2 separate regions of the Homo sapiens genome follow, and region 2 is linked to region 1. The links are contacts of gene promoters, found by promoter capture Hi-C in human tissues and cell types (Jung and others, 2019). All regions are on one chromosome and are shown on one strand. The core of a region is centred on a gene start or on the middle of the fragment in contact, and the rest is flanking DNA. Distances in the headings are between cores, read along the strand shown. Region 1 holds the start of OPRK1 (opioid receptor kappa 1). Region 2 has its middle 30 kb from the start of NPBWR1.

Evidence for each region. The method cuts DNA at HindIII sites, captures the fragments that hold promoters and counts their contacts. A contact is called where the count stands out against the background at its distance.
Region 2: a contact is called between a fragment that was not itself captured here and the fragment with the promoter of OPRK1 in region 1, in 1 of the 25 tissues and cell types used here (mesendoderm cells).

Annotation. Positions count from the first base shown.
Region 1 is chr8:53,248,105-53,255,210 of GRCh38, forward strand. It overlaps OPRK1 (opioid receptor kappa 1), which reads right to left and starts at 3,533. Exons shown (of 4, transcript NM_000912.5): 1 at 3,344-3,533; 2 at 2,677-2,981. The coding sequence starts at 2,933. The HindIII fragment of the contact is 8,793 bases long and covers 2,548-7,106 here.
Region 2 is chr8:52,965,305-52,972,410 of GRCh38, forward strand. No RefSeq gene overlaps it. Among named protein-coding and RNA genes, the nearest start is that of NPBWR1, 30 kb to the left of the region's middle. RefSeq lists an enhancer at 5,218-5,719. The HindIII fragment of the contact is 7,141 bases long and covers 846-7,106 here.

The DNA.
Region 1 (7,106 bases), core at 2,283-4,782:
TGAAGGTCTCCACAGTGAAAGTTAATGTGCCCTAATTATCAAGGGATTATGTCAGTTGGTACACACTAAATGATGAGAACTCTTGAAACTTTAAATCAGAAGATACGAGGCAGCATTCCAGGGGCCCAAGGTGGGAAAAGCTATTTGTAAGGCAGGCCTAAAAGTAGGCATATCTTTCTCCAGAGCTCTTTCTCCCCAGGTCTGAGCTGAACAGTCTAGATCTGCACCTGCCCACACTCTGAGCATCTAAGTTCCATTTCTACAATGATTTTCTATAAGGTTGAACTATGCTAGGAGCCTTTCCCATGTAAAACATATAAAATAGTATCCTTCATCTTTCAAGCACAGCTACTCAGTCTCTTCAGTAACAAGGGCTATGGGGCCTCCACACCCTGGTTCTGCACTCAGGCCTGATGATCACAACGCAACCCACTTCATGCCACCCTCTCTCTGATCTTCAGTCTCTTCATTTCCTAAGATAAATAAACCCAAGTACATCAATTCTTCTTCAAAGGTTTTATTTTTCAATCCTTGAACCATCTATCATTATGAAATAATACTAAATACTCCTTTTCCTTCTTAGCTATAGACTTGAGTGAACTAGGTTCACTAGACATTAACCTTTTACTTGTGAAGACCTTAAAATGTATGTGCTCTAGCCATAAGTGAACTAGATAGATTTCAGTAGGTTGGTACTCCAGGATGGCAGTAGAACTCTTCGCTTTTCATTCATCATCAAACGTAACCTTTAAGTATTGGGAGGTGGGAGAATGGAGAATGATGTATGTGAACTATCCAACTTCTTTTATATTTTTAGCTGAACTTATCCCCTTATAACACACTTTAGTGTTGGATATATTTGGGAAATCTATCCATTAAAAATCCTAGCTAATCTACAGGATTTTTTTTTCCTTCTTACATGTCAAATGTTCCCCATGGAGTTATATTTGCACATAACATCTAAATGTTATTTTAGGATTCTTCATTCTTTTTAATCCTAGTCTGCAAAAGGTTGTAGAGCAACTACAAAGCTCTTTTCAAACTGCAGACTTCAGGGGCTCATTCAAATAACAATATGTATCTGTTTTACTTGAGCACCTAAATATGATATGGGTAGAAACAGAGCTATTTTTTTTCCTAGAGCTTTCTTTTGCTTAACAATGTTTCTATTACCCCACCACCAAATAAATAGCTTCTGTACCAAAGATCTCCTAAAATTTTTAATTAAAATTTAGAATACAGTTGTCTTTTCTTTTGTCTAATTGTCTCTTTAGTGGAGGCCAGCCCTGAGATTACTAATGACTTGGACAAACAATTTAATTTTAAAATATTCCTTCCTTCTATAACCTTTACTCATCATGGATAGAATTCCTGCGAAATGCAATAGGCAATTATGAAAACCAAGGGCACCAAGCTATAAACACTAGTTGTTGATGAAATGAGCTTTATAATATGTGTTTGGCGACTTAAATGATGGTTTTTAATGTCAGAGCATACATAGGAATAAAAGACCTGACATTCTCAAGCAAAAAAGTAAAAATAAAAATAAAGCAGTATTTTATTATGATAATTTTCCAAGAGAAACATTTATGCTACCATTCATGATATGGTTGTTAAAGTTCATAATAAATAAATGGCCTGTTTCAAAACTAAAATCAAGCTTAAAAAAAATCAGCTATTCATCGTTTCAGAGTCCCTAGCCAGGGTGACTTGCATCCCGCCCTTATTTCATAGAGACTTCTCAAAGGAACACAAGCTTCCTACTCCCTCTCACAGGTGTGTTGACAAAGCTCTAGTGCTCCCAGAAAAGGAAACACATCTATCTTAAGAAAAGTGCAGAACAAAGTTAGGTTTTCCTTTTCTTGTTTTTCTTTCTTAAAGTCAGAATCACTTTGCTTACCAAAAAATTAGCATATATGTGGATATTGGGATACTTATTATTGGAAGTTGACTTGAAGAAATTTCCACACACACACACACACACACACACACACACAAATAAAACCTTCAATTTCTCATGGTGAAAAAAACAGCGAAGTAGTTTTTGAAAATCTCCACAGGCCATGTTTTAGAGGATAAATATTATTTACTGATATTCCTAACAAATGGGATGCCATTTGATACTAAAAAGGCTCATATATGCATATCAACAACGCTAGAGCATATATCAGGTTTTGTTTCATAAGCCAAAACACCAGTCTGAGGAGTCCCAGGAAATTCGGAATTATCTTCAGTGCATTGGGTGGGCTTGAAATTTATCTTAAGAAATATTTGCAAAGGGCATAACAAAGTGCTCCAAACTGGCGCAGGCAAATGGATTAGTTCCTTTACCAGGAACCCCTGACCCTGTTGTCAGCACCCTGGCACCTTGCCCTGCGCATAGAGTTTTCAGCAGAAACACTGGGCCCTAGGGTGGGGTCGGGGGGTTACTCTGAAATCTTCCAGACGCCCCTGGCCGCTCGGATTCGCCTGTGTGAACCTCTCAGCACTCCACCAAAAACTCCCAGAAAATCCTTCACCTCTTCTAGGAAGCCACCCTGTAGCATTTCCAGGATCCTTCACGGAACAGAGTCCCCACCACCTGGCTGGCTGCCCCCACTGCTGCTCCAGTGGCGGGGCCTGACCCTCACTCCCTGCCCCGCCCAGCCCCCAGCGCTGCGCTGTCCCCGCGCTCACCGGATGATCACGAACATGACCAGCGAGTTGCCCACCAAGCCCACGACGAACACTACGGAGTAGACCGCCGTGATGATGACCGGGATGGCCGGGGAGATGTGCGCGGGCTCCAGCTGCGCGTCCTCCGAGCCGGCGCTGCCGTTGCTGTCGGGCTCGGCCCAGCCGGGAAACCAGGCGCTGCTGTTGGGGGGCAGGCAGGCGCTCGGGGCGCAGGTAGGGCCCGGCTCCCCGCGGAAGATCTGGATCGGGGAGTCCATGGTGGGGCGATTGCAGCAGGAAGGCGAGGACAGGCGGCACCTGCGGCGCTGCGGGAGCGAAAGAACCGGCTGGACGCGGAGAGGCAAACTTTGCCCGCGCCCTGGCCAGCGGCGCTGGGGACCCGGAGCCTGCGGACTCCCACCCGGGCCGCAAGTCGCCGGGGGCAGGACAGGGAGAACGGACTTCTCGCTGCCTTTCCGGCCAGCAGGCGCGCCGCTGGGTGCCAGAGAGGGGCGAAGAGCGCTCGCTCCTTCTCCCCCAGCCCCTGAGGTGCCTCCCTCACCAATTCTAGGCACCGGCCCCTGGTGGAACTGTCCCCAGACTGCCTGAGTCCCCAGGGTCAAGCCCCCTTCCCACCTCCCAGCACGGAGCTCTACCTAGAACTGCACCTCGAAAGCCCAAAGCTTACCTATGGTTCCCAGAGACAGGCGAAGGCGAGGTTTTTTACGGGACGCCCTGGTAGGTGCTGAACCGCGCGCTCACGAGTCCCGCTCAGCTCTTGGCATCACCTGCTCTCGGACCCCGGCCCCGCTCTCCGCCCGAGGGCTGCTGTTCCGCCGAGCGCAGCCCCCGCCTCTCAGCGCACGTCTCCCACTACTGGCGGCGGCTCTGCGGGGCGGGGCGGGGCGGGACCGGCGGGACGCAGCCGGGACGCGGCTGGGCGCTGGGGGCCTGCGGGCGGAGAGCTCGTCTGGTGCGCCCGCCCCAGGCCGGCAGGTCCCTGCCCCGCCCCGCCCGCCCGGAGTCAGCCCCCAGCTCCCCAGCCTCCCAGCCCCGCGTCCCCTCCAGCCCCGCAGGCTCGCCCGGCCCACTAACTGCCCGAGCGGCACACCGCCTGGTCCCCGGCCATGCAGCCTTCCCCAAGACCTGAGACTGAGCCATTTAGATTTAGTAAAAAGGAGGAGCATGCCTATTTAGTGCAAGTATGCACCTGGATTTTCATATTGTGTCTAGAACTTCTTATCTGCATAGTTCGCAGTCAGGAACTACGCTTATTAGAATGGCCCATCCAAAGAAAGTAACAAAATGATCCAGTTAGAATAAGACCAGTTCATAAAATAATGACTTAAAAGACACATAAATAGAATATTTCCTTGCGTTCTCTTCCATTCCGTCTGCTCTAACTGGGATGACAGGCTGCAGACAAACTGCACCTTACGGGTATTACCTGAATTGCTGATAGTATCTGAGAAGGGCAAAACACTCTCCTTACCCGGGCCTCAGTGGTGCTCCAGGGAGGTGACAGTGTCTCTGTTTTACATTAATCCCTGCAGCCATCACGTTCTCCTCACTTCTCCCTCACAGTAGGGCTGCCTCCATTATACGGCCGCGAATCTGAGCGTCCGTAAATAAACTGTCACCATCATTTCTTTGCAAAACTCTGCTAGTCCAAGGGTAGCTGTCAGATCCTGCTGAGTGAGAGACATTCTCTTCTCAGGCAAAGGGACCGGCAAGACACAAAGGGAGCAAGGGCTCAGCCCCTGAGGTGAAGGTTCTGAAAGGGAGTGGGGAAGTTCCCCTTCTCCACAGGGTACTGGAGACAGGCCTGGGGGAGACTGGGGGTTTAGGCACCTCAATTTCCCCAGTGGATTCACTGCCTCAGGCTGACAAACACAGGTCCCCACTGCATCCCACAGCTAATGTCCATGCCACACCTGGACACACTAATGACTGATACAGCCCTTCCCTCCATCAGCGGAGGGCAGAAGGGGGTTCCTGTCTCTTTCAAGACGCCATGACCCCAAAGTGGGATTTGACCACCAGCGTCTTGCCGCCTGGAGATGAACAACTCTTTTGAGCAGTGTAATATGAAGAGCATAAGGAAATCTTCCCTTTGTTCAACCATATCCCTTCAACCCTTTCAAATAATTTTGAAAATTATTATCAAGTCTTAGAGTTCTTTTAAGTCTGATTGCAAACTGTCATTGAAGGATCACATCTCCTTCAGTAACACATCAGACCTGCTGAGACCTCATAAGGGCCTCAGTAGTTTTATTTCATTTGAGCACTCTTACCTTTCTTGTTTACCAAATTAATGGCCAAAATAAAGGGAAGACAAAATGAACAGAGCATTGAGAAGCCCTCAGGTGGCTCAGGTTGCCAGGGGAACCCACTCGAGTCTCTAAATCCAGGAAGTATGGCTGCTTCTGTGGAGTCATGCTCTTAGGAGTATGCAATTTTATCATAATATCAGATAAAAGCTCATAAAATAGAAAGGAAAAGTAAACTGCTAAAATGCTATATACTGTTACACACTGATATAAAGCACATGTGGTTATACTTGGCCATTCTACTCAATGCAAACACTATGCTTATAACTAAGTACATGGAAAGCACTTTTAAAGATGAAAATGTGGAGATTTTTATTGGATAATGCTACAATGCTAAGGAGCATCCTGGGTAGTGGGTGGCTTTGACATTTTTGTTAGATAGACTAGATAACCCACCAGTAAATTGCAATTAACTCCCTTTCTTGTGGCTCCAACAACAGATATTGTTGTGCAGCAATGAGTGCAGAGCTGGAGGGAGCAACTTCATTAGCTTAAGACCCCAGTGCAGCCAATGGAGTCTTGCTGAGCCGGGATGCAGCTGGCTTCAGCTCACTTCACTCAGCAGATATTGCAGAGTATCCCCAAGTGGCTGAAGAAAAGGCACCCTCTGGGGATACAACAATACCAACACAGAGACAATCTCTTCTCAAAGAGGATGTGAAGCTAGTGTGACACATGGGATCTAAATTTTTTTAATGTTAGGAATAATTAATAAATAATTAATAACAAATTCATCCAACTCTGGCAAATGTTATGTGGAAAGGTGTTTAATAAACAGTGATAGCCAGTGCAGCAAATTTGCATGAAATTTAAAAATAGCATCCCTTTCATAAGGCACTTTACTTAGATCTGTCAGCAAGTTGTTATAATAAATACCCAAATCAGTCTTGTCTTCGGTGTGAAGCATACTGTGAGATACTGCACACTTAGGTGCAGTGTAGTCTACACAAGTGTGCAGATCCCCTGAAGAAGACCTGGTGTCTGGGAACCCTGCTCAGTCAGAGAACATCAGGGAAGCCCTTCTTGAAATGGCATTGAAGCTGATATTTAAGGATTGCAGTTATGGCAGTTATCCAGGAGAGGGGGAAGAAAGAGCATTCCACAGCATATGTGAAGAATGTAGATGGTCAAGAGTGGGGCATTTCTGTGGCACCCTGACGAGGCTGAGGTGCTTGAGCCTGGTGATCAAGAGCAGTTAAGGTGCAGACCATGCTGAGCCTTGTCAAGAATGTCAAAGATTTTGGATTTCAGCCTAAGAGTAATAAAGAGCCAGTGAAGGCTCTCAGGCAGGAGAGTGGCATGCCCAGATTGGGGTCTTTGAAGTATCACTTGTCTTTAGTTTGGTGAACATACTGGAGGGAATGAGGAGGTGTGAGGAGCTCCAAATTCAATTGGAATCATGTGCTGTTCCAGCTAAAGGTGCCGCGCATCTGCATGTGACATAGACAACATGCAACCAGGACTTTTTCACGGCCATAGACTTAAACTTGGAACTGCTTATACTGAAATTCTTGACTGCATTAAATCCACAGGTTTGAAAAGTCAATGCCAGTCACATGTCAGACTCTAAGTTGGGGAGTGAGAGAAATTTTGGCAACACAAAGCAATGAATGGCACATCAGACGTATGGGCAGAATTATTTCAAAAGAAGTTGAGATTATCTCTGGTAGTAGAAGAAAGATGACACTAAGGTAGGGATCGGAATTTAAGCAAGAATTTTATCAAGAAGGAAAGGCAGGGAGGCACATGTGCAAAGGTGTGAGAGCCTGACACGTGGTGGTGTGGGGCTTGCAGTGTTACAGAAGGTGTGGGGGGAGGAAAGTGGTGCATCAGGACAGCCAGGGTGCAGACTCAGGGAAGAGCAGGTCGGCCCGGCTGTGCTGGGATCGTGAGCTGACCGTGTGGTGGAAGTGGCCCTGACTGACACAAGGAGGACACCTTTGGACAGAGAACAGTAGTAAAGCTCTCCTAACCATCTAGGTTAGAGATGAATCAACCCTAAAACAACACAATTGCTAAGCAGATTGGGGAGGATAGGATAGTTTTGAGAACTGTGTAGGAAATTAAATTGACAAGAAATGGTCTGGATGAATATGGAAGTTAGGGAGGAGAAAGAGTTTA
Region 2 (7,106 bases), core at 3,166-5,665, 280 kb before region 1:
CTTATTAAAGAATAAATTGTTTCACTCACTGTCTTGCAAATGTCTCTTAATAGATTTTCACTATAGTTTGAATAGAATCCAAATGTCTTACCATGTTTACCATGCTCTTTAGGGAATTGCCTGGCTCCACCCTGCTTTGCTCCCCAAACTCTTCCCATGGCTACTTCCCCTGGGCTCACCATGCCCCAGGGGCCATGGCCGCCCAGACCCAGGCTTCTGCACCACAGTGTCTCTGCACCTGTTCTGTGCTTGACCAGCGATGCCACCCCAGTTCTCATAAGTCCAACTCCTTCTTATCCTCGAGGTCAACTTATCTACTCAGAAGGAAGACTTCAGCTTACTACTCAGTGCTCTTCTGTATTTTGACTCCTTGTTTCGGCTAGAATTTCTAGGTATTTTATTTCTTTGCTTCCTTGACTTTGTCATTCCCACTGCATGTGAGCCGCCTGAGGGCGGGCCCGGTGCTTCCTGAGCCTTTGACACCCAAAGCAGAATCTGACTCAGTAAGTACCCAATGAATGGTTTTGAATACAGGGGTAGGTAAATGAATATCTTTAATCCTAGGCATTTATGTTTCAGGCAGCTTCGCTGCTAATTTTACCATTTACACCAATAATTTAGAGTTTTGGTAAATTTTCTTTGAAATTTTAAGCCCTGGAAACGACTTTGGAGAACAGACGAGTCAATTTTCCAGAGTAGCCACCAGAGGGAGCACTGAGACAATTTTTGTAAGGAAAAAATACCCAGTATTAATTATTCAAGTCAGTTGGGTCTTTTATATAACTTCCCCAGGTTTTACTCAGAAATGGCAAGTTTTCTCATGACTGTGTAACCACATCTTGCATATTAAAATAAAAATTACCAGTTAAAGTCAAACCCACAAAATTGGAAATATTGATAGTTATAGATTCACTCTTAAACCAGAATTAAGAAACCACAATTAAGATAATTTTGACCAGAAACAATTTCAATAATTGTGTTAGTCTTCTGTATTGTTTAGATTTTGATGATATGTTTGCACACAATTGTTAAGAAATTTAAATTTAAATTCTATGCTCATGAAGATACCAGGATTTTAATTTCACAATAGCTTTATTTGTATGTTATTTTTATATTATCCCATACATTGGAATTTCTCCAAGTACAATCAATTTAAGCATAACATACTTTTTCTTTTCTTTTCTTTTTTTGAGACAGAGTCTCACTCTGTCGCCCAGGCTGGAGTGCAGTGGAGCATCTTGGCTCACTGCCACCTGCGCCTCCAGGGTTCAAGTGATTCTCCCGCCTCAGTCTCCCAAGTAGCTGGATTACAGGCGCCTGCTACCATACCCAGCTAATTTTTTGTATTTTTAGTAGAGATGGGGTTTCACCATATTGGCCAAGCTGGTCTCAAACTCCCAACCTCAGGTGATCCACCCAGCTCGGCCTCCCAAAGTGCTGGGATTACAGGCGTAATTTGGGATATGACAAATTTTACATTTGTTGACTTTAGTGCAACCATGGTGATATAACTGTTTTTAGTTTAATTCTTATAGAGAAAACTCTTTGGGAAAAAATATAAGGTTTGTTATATTAATAACTCTTTTGTCCTGAAGAGAACAACATGTTTCTTCCGTATTCTTTGCGTGTGTGTGATAAAGCAAAACAAATGCCTATTAATGCATTAAACAGGATCTAGTGGTAGGTCCAATCATATACTACAGTTTTGAAGTAGTAATAATAAACCATGCTTTGAGAATTCTGCAATGCCTGTACTGAGTTATGAACATTCCTCTCATTATTCTTGGTGACAAAGCCTTAGGTACTCCTAATTCTACTATAGTTTGTTGCCATGTTCATAATAGAAATGCAAAATTTTAGTTATAGATTAGAGAACCTTTTTTTTTCCTTTAATCCAAGTTCATAGATTGCCGAATTCTTTCTTTTTTCTTCTTTATGTCTCTTTTTATTAAATTTTAGGTTCAGGGGTACATGTGCAGATTTGTTATATAGGTAAATTGCATGTCACAAGAGTTTGTTTTACAGATTTCATCACCCAGGTAATAAGCATAGTCCCTGAAAGGTAGTTTTTCAATCATCACCCTCCTCCCACCCTCCACCTTCACATAGGTCCCGGGGTCTGTTGTTCTTGGGTATTCTTAGCCACTGCTCTTTTGGCTCAGTTGAGCTCACAGTGCTGGCAGTGATTCTATTTGGGAACAGTATCTGTGGGCACCTTTGCTTTTGATGCCAATTTTAAATCTTCTATTCAAATATGTAAGCTAGTAACCAAACTAAAGTGTAGAATTGACTTACTGATAACAAATGAAAATTTCCCTTTCAAAGAAAGGGGATATTTAGTAATCCTCTGTCACTTTTTCCTATACCGTGACTTAGTCATAGCTTTGGCATTTGTCATAATAACAGCCAAATATTTGGTCCAAAGTTACAAATGAAAATGTGCACAAAACTTTTTAAATAGAAGCAAATATGCCAGAAATGATTTGTATTATAAGTAGTTGAAAACAGTTTATACTACATTTTTTGGAAAATTTAAGACTTTGACTAGACATGTTTATCTGTATCTGCTTATATCTGTGTCCATCCACACACAATAGTTTATACTCTAGTATTTTTTTTTTTAAAATTAGACTTTGGCTAAAACAGCATATGCCTAATACCTATAGAATTCTATAATAATGTTTTCTATGATTCTGAAGATACTTCAGATTTGCCAGTGTCTCCAGTCAGTGTTAGAATTTTGCATATCTACCATTCCTTTTTTTAGTTATACTGGCCTGACAGTTAATAAAATATAGATGCTAAAATATCTGATAAGCAAGTTTTAAATATATGTCAATGTAAAAAGTCATGCTTTAAATACTAAAAGACTGCACTTTTCCCTGCTTACTTTTATTATTGTTTCCAAAAAGCGAAAAGGACATCGCTTTTGTAATGGTTTAGTACAGCATATGAACATTTCTGTCCAAAAGAAATTTACTTTAGAGGCATGAAACCAGGCCACAGCCACGCTTGACGACACAAAGTTCTGAGAGGTAAATCATGAGCAGCAATTTCAGGTCATTTCCCTGAGCAGGAGGGCATTTCAGCTAAGAAAGAACAGCAGAAAAATCATGTACACTCAGCATGCTGATTTACCCAGTGCAGAATAGCTCTTGTCTAGAAAGGAGCTAGATTAGAAGTCCAATTTTTTAAGTTTCATATAAAGGAGAATTAACAAGTAGTGCTTACAGAGAAAATGGTTGAAAATGCTTGTACTGAACCACGTTGAAGTATCTAAAGAAGTATGATATGCAGTCACCCAGGTTTATAGTATTACACATCTAGATATATCCACCATGAAGATGTTTGGCAATGTACAGGCAAAATGTCCAAATGGCTCTTTTTTAAAGCTTCTATTTGGATATTTTAATACTGGAAGAGGGCTCTAAGAAATGAAAATAGCTGAGTATCTGCATCCCATAATTAACCTATTATTCATTCATTCAATCACTCAAAAAACACATATTTGAAGTCTTACTATGTGCTACATCTGAACTATGTATTGAAGGCACAACAGTGAGCAAGGCATGCAGTCTCTGACCTCATGAGCCACAGATGGAGTTCATATTCATTAACTGAACATTTCCTCTGTGTCTGTGTGCTGTGCTGACCACTGGTACTGCAGAAATATAGGAAAAGGTTCCTATTTTCAGAGAGCTCATGGTCTAATGGTGGAGATGAACACATTCACTACAGGTGAGGCGTCCTGGTGTGTCCAACTGTGTCTTGAAATTGGTGGGTTCTTGGTCTCACTGACTTCAAGAATGAAGCCGTGGACCCTCGCGGTGAGTGTTACAGTTCTTAAAGGCAGCGTGTCCGGGGTTTGTTTCTTTTGATGTTTGGATGTGCTTGGAGTTTCTTCCTTCTGGTGGGTTCGTGGTCTCACTGGCTCAGGAGTGAAGCTGCAGACCTTCGCGGTGAGTGTTACAGCTCATAAAGGCAGTGTGGACCCAAAGAGTGAGCAGTAGCAAGATTTATTGCAAAGAGCGAAAGAACAAAGTTTCCACAGTGTGGAAGGGGACCCCAGCGGGTTGCCACTGCTGGCTCTGGGCAGCCTGCTTTTATTCTCTTATGTGGCCCCACCCACATCCTGCTGATTGGTAGAGCCGAGTGGTCTGTTTTGACAGGGTGCTGATTGGTGCGTTTATAATCCCTGAGCTAGACACAAAGGTTCTCCACATCCCCACCGGATTAGCTAGATCCAGAGTGTGGACACAAAGGTTCTACAAGTCCCCACCAGAGTAGCTAGATACAGAGTGTCTATTGGTGCATTCACAAACCCTGAGCTAGACACAGGGCGCTGACTGGTGTGTTTACAAACCTTGAGCTAGATACAGAGTGCCGATTGGTGTATTTACAATCCCTGACCTAGACATAAAGGTTCTCCAAGTTCCCACCAGACTCAGGAGCCCAGCTGGCTTCACCCAGTGGATCTCACACTGGGGCTGCAGGTGGAGCTGCCTGCCAGTCCGGCACCGAGTGCCCACACTCCTCAGCCATTGGGTGGTCGATGGGACTGGGCACCATGGAGCAGGGGGCAGCACTTGTTGGGGAGGCTTGGGCTGCACAGGAGGTCACGGCGGAGGTGGAGGGGAGCGGAGGCTCAGGCATGGCGGGCTGCAGGTCCTGAGCCCAACCCTGCCCCGTGGGAAGGCAGCTAAGGCCCGGCGAGAAATCGAGTGCAGCGCTGGTGGGCTGGCACTGCTGGGGGACCCAGTACACCCTCCGCAGCTGCTGGCCTGGGTGCTAAGCCCCTCATTGCCCGGGGGCGGCAGGGCCGGCCAGCTGCTCCTAGTGCGGGGCCGCCAAGCCCACGCCCACCTGGAACTCCAGCTGGCCCGCAAGTGACACGTGCAGCCCCTGTTCCTGCTCTCGCCTCTCCCTCCACACCTCCCTGAGAGCTGAGGGAGCTGGCTCTGGCCTTGACCAGCCCAGAAAGGGGCTCCCACAGTGCAGCGGTGGGCTGAAGGGCTCCTCAAGTGCCGCCAAATTGGGAGCCCAGGCAGAGGAAGCACCAAGAGCGAGCGAGGGCTGTGAGGACTGCCAGCACGCTGTCACTTCTCACTGGCATGAAGTGCACATGAGGTGTTATGAGAATGCAGTAAGAAATAGATTTATGACAGTGTTTCTTCTCTAATAGCTGCTAAAGATGGTTTACTCAGTCATAAAGAAGTCGCCTTGTAGTCCTAAGCTGGGTGTTTTATTTATTGATCTGTTAGTTTACAGACCATATTGGCCATTTCATTTATCTTGAAAATGAGAGTTTATCACTGAGATCCCATGGGGCTTTATATTAATTGCGTATTTAAAGAAAATTAAAAAAAAGAAACAAAATAGAGAAGTAAATGATTAGGTGTCATGATGTGGCTTTTGACTTATAAACCTGAATTTGAGGTAAAAAAAAAAACAGGTTTCCTACTCTGCAGCTCATCAATTCCCAGCAGGTGGCCCCATGTGGCTGGAGGCAGGGCTTCCATGAAGTGCTGAGACCTTAAAGCTGTGGCCTTTGCTCTCTTTCCCCTTGCCTTTGAGGCGTAAACTGAACAAATGTAGAGCAATTTTAGAAATCCAGTATAACTTAACAGATACAGGGCTTTCTGTTGTCTGAGTTTCAGAAGTCTGCCTTCATCTTTAGTTTCACTGAAATGTTGTCTCAGGTTGCCTGAGTCTTAAGAAAACAGGATCTTGATCCCTCTGTTTCACGTGAAAGGGGCAAACGCCTGTTCAGGCCTCACTTCCTGCCAAGCAGTCTTCTGACATCACAGGCCACCACCTGGCTGCCCCTGACTCACTTTCTCTGTCTCTAGCACTGCTGTTCTCTTATCTCACTCTTCTCATTTATTGTACATACTTCTTCGTGCTACCTTCAGGTCATCATAGATTAGCGTTTTCAAAACCCTGTTACTATCTCAGGTACCCATAAAATGATTCTTGTTTAAAGACTGAAAGGGGCTCTGTGATCATACACAACTGAATGCAGACAGAACTAGTCACTATGTTTGCCAATTTCATTAAGTGGGGGAAAAATAAAAAAACTTAGCCTTGGCAAGTGGGGAGCTTCATTTAGACAAGTCGATTGAATGCTCTACTTCCTAACAGGGTGCTTTGATCTCAGATAAACACATACATTAGAAATTATTATCCTAAAATGTTAGGTTTGCTTTTAAGAAATATTTTATGAAATGTTTCTGGTTATTTATAGGATAAAATCTAAAGCCTTTATCTTGTCATTCAAGGTTCATCAAAGTTGAGCCCCAGTTAAATTTTTAATTTTTTTTAATTGAAGTGAAACTCACATAAACAGTTTTAAAATGAAAAATTTAGTGACATTTAGTACATTCAAAAAGTTTGGCCACCACCACTTCTATCTAGTTCCAGACATTTTTATTACTCCTAAATAAACCCTGTGCCCATAGGCAGTCACTCCCCGTTCCTCTTTCCCCCAGCCACTGGCAACCACCAATCTGCTTTCTGTCTGTAAAGATTTGTCTGTTCTGAATATTTCATATAAATAGATTCACACAACATGTGACCTGCTGTGGCTGATTGCTTTGACTTAGCTAATGTTTTCGAGCTTCATTCATAGTGTGGTGTGACAGGAAGACCTTTTCACCTACCAATTTAGGTTCAGTGGCTGGGGCCTGCTAATTTAGCTGACAATGGACAGATTAACAGGAGAAAAGATAACGTTTATTCATATGTAGAACACAAAAGAAGTGGCTCCTGAACTGCTAAAGATAGAGGTTTATACGGCATCTTTCACAGGGGAAGAGGAGAGGGGAAAGGGGGCTTCTATGGGCAGATCCAATGGTTTCCTTATGAAAGACAAATCGATTTTTAGGGGAACAAATACAAGATAAGAAAATTTGTGATGACTTATGTTTAGGTAGGTACAAGTGGTCTTCATCTTTTTCTGGGCTGTAAAACTCCCTGGAGAGGGATTTTTGTGGCAGCCTCACTCCTAGAAGTTTCTGCTTCTAGTAGGATAAGGGAAGCTCCAAAAAAGCTGCTTTCTACATCTGTTGAATCTCAAATGCCTTCAGTTTAAAACAATCTTCATACCA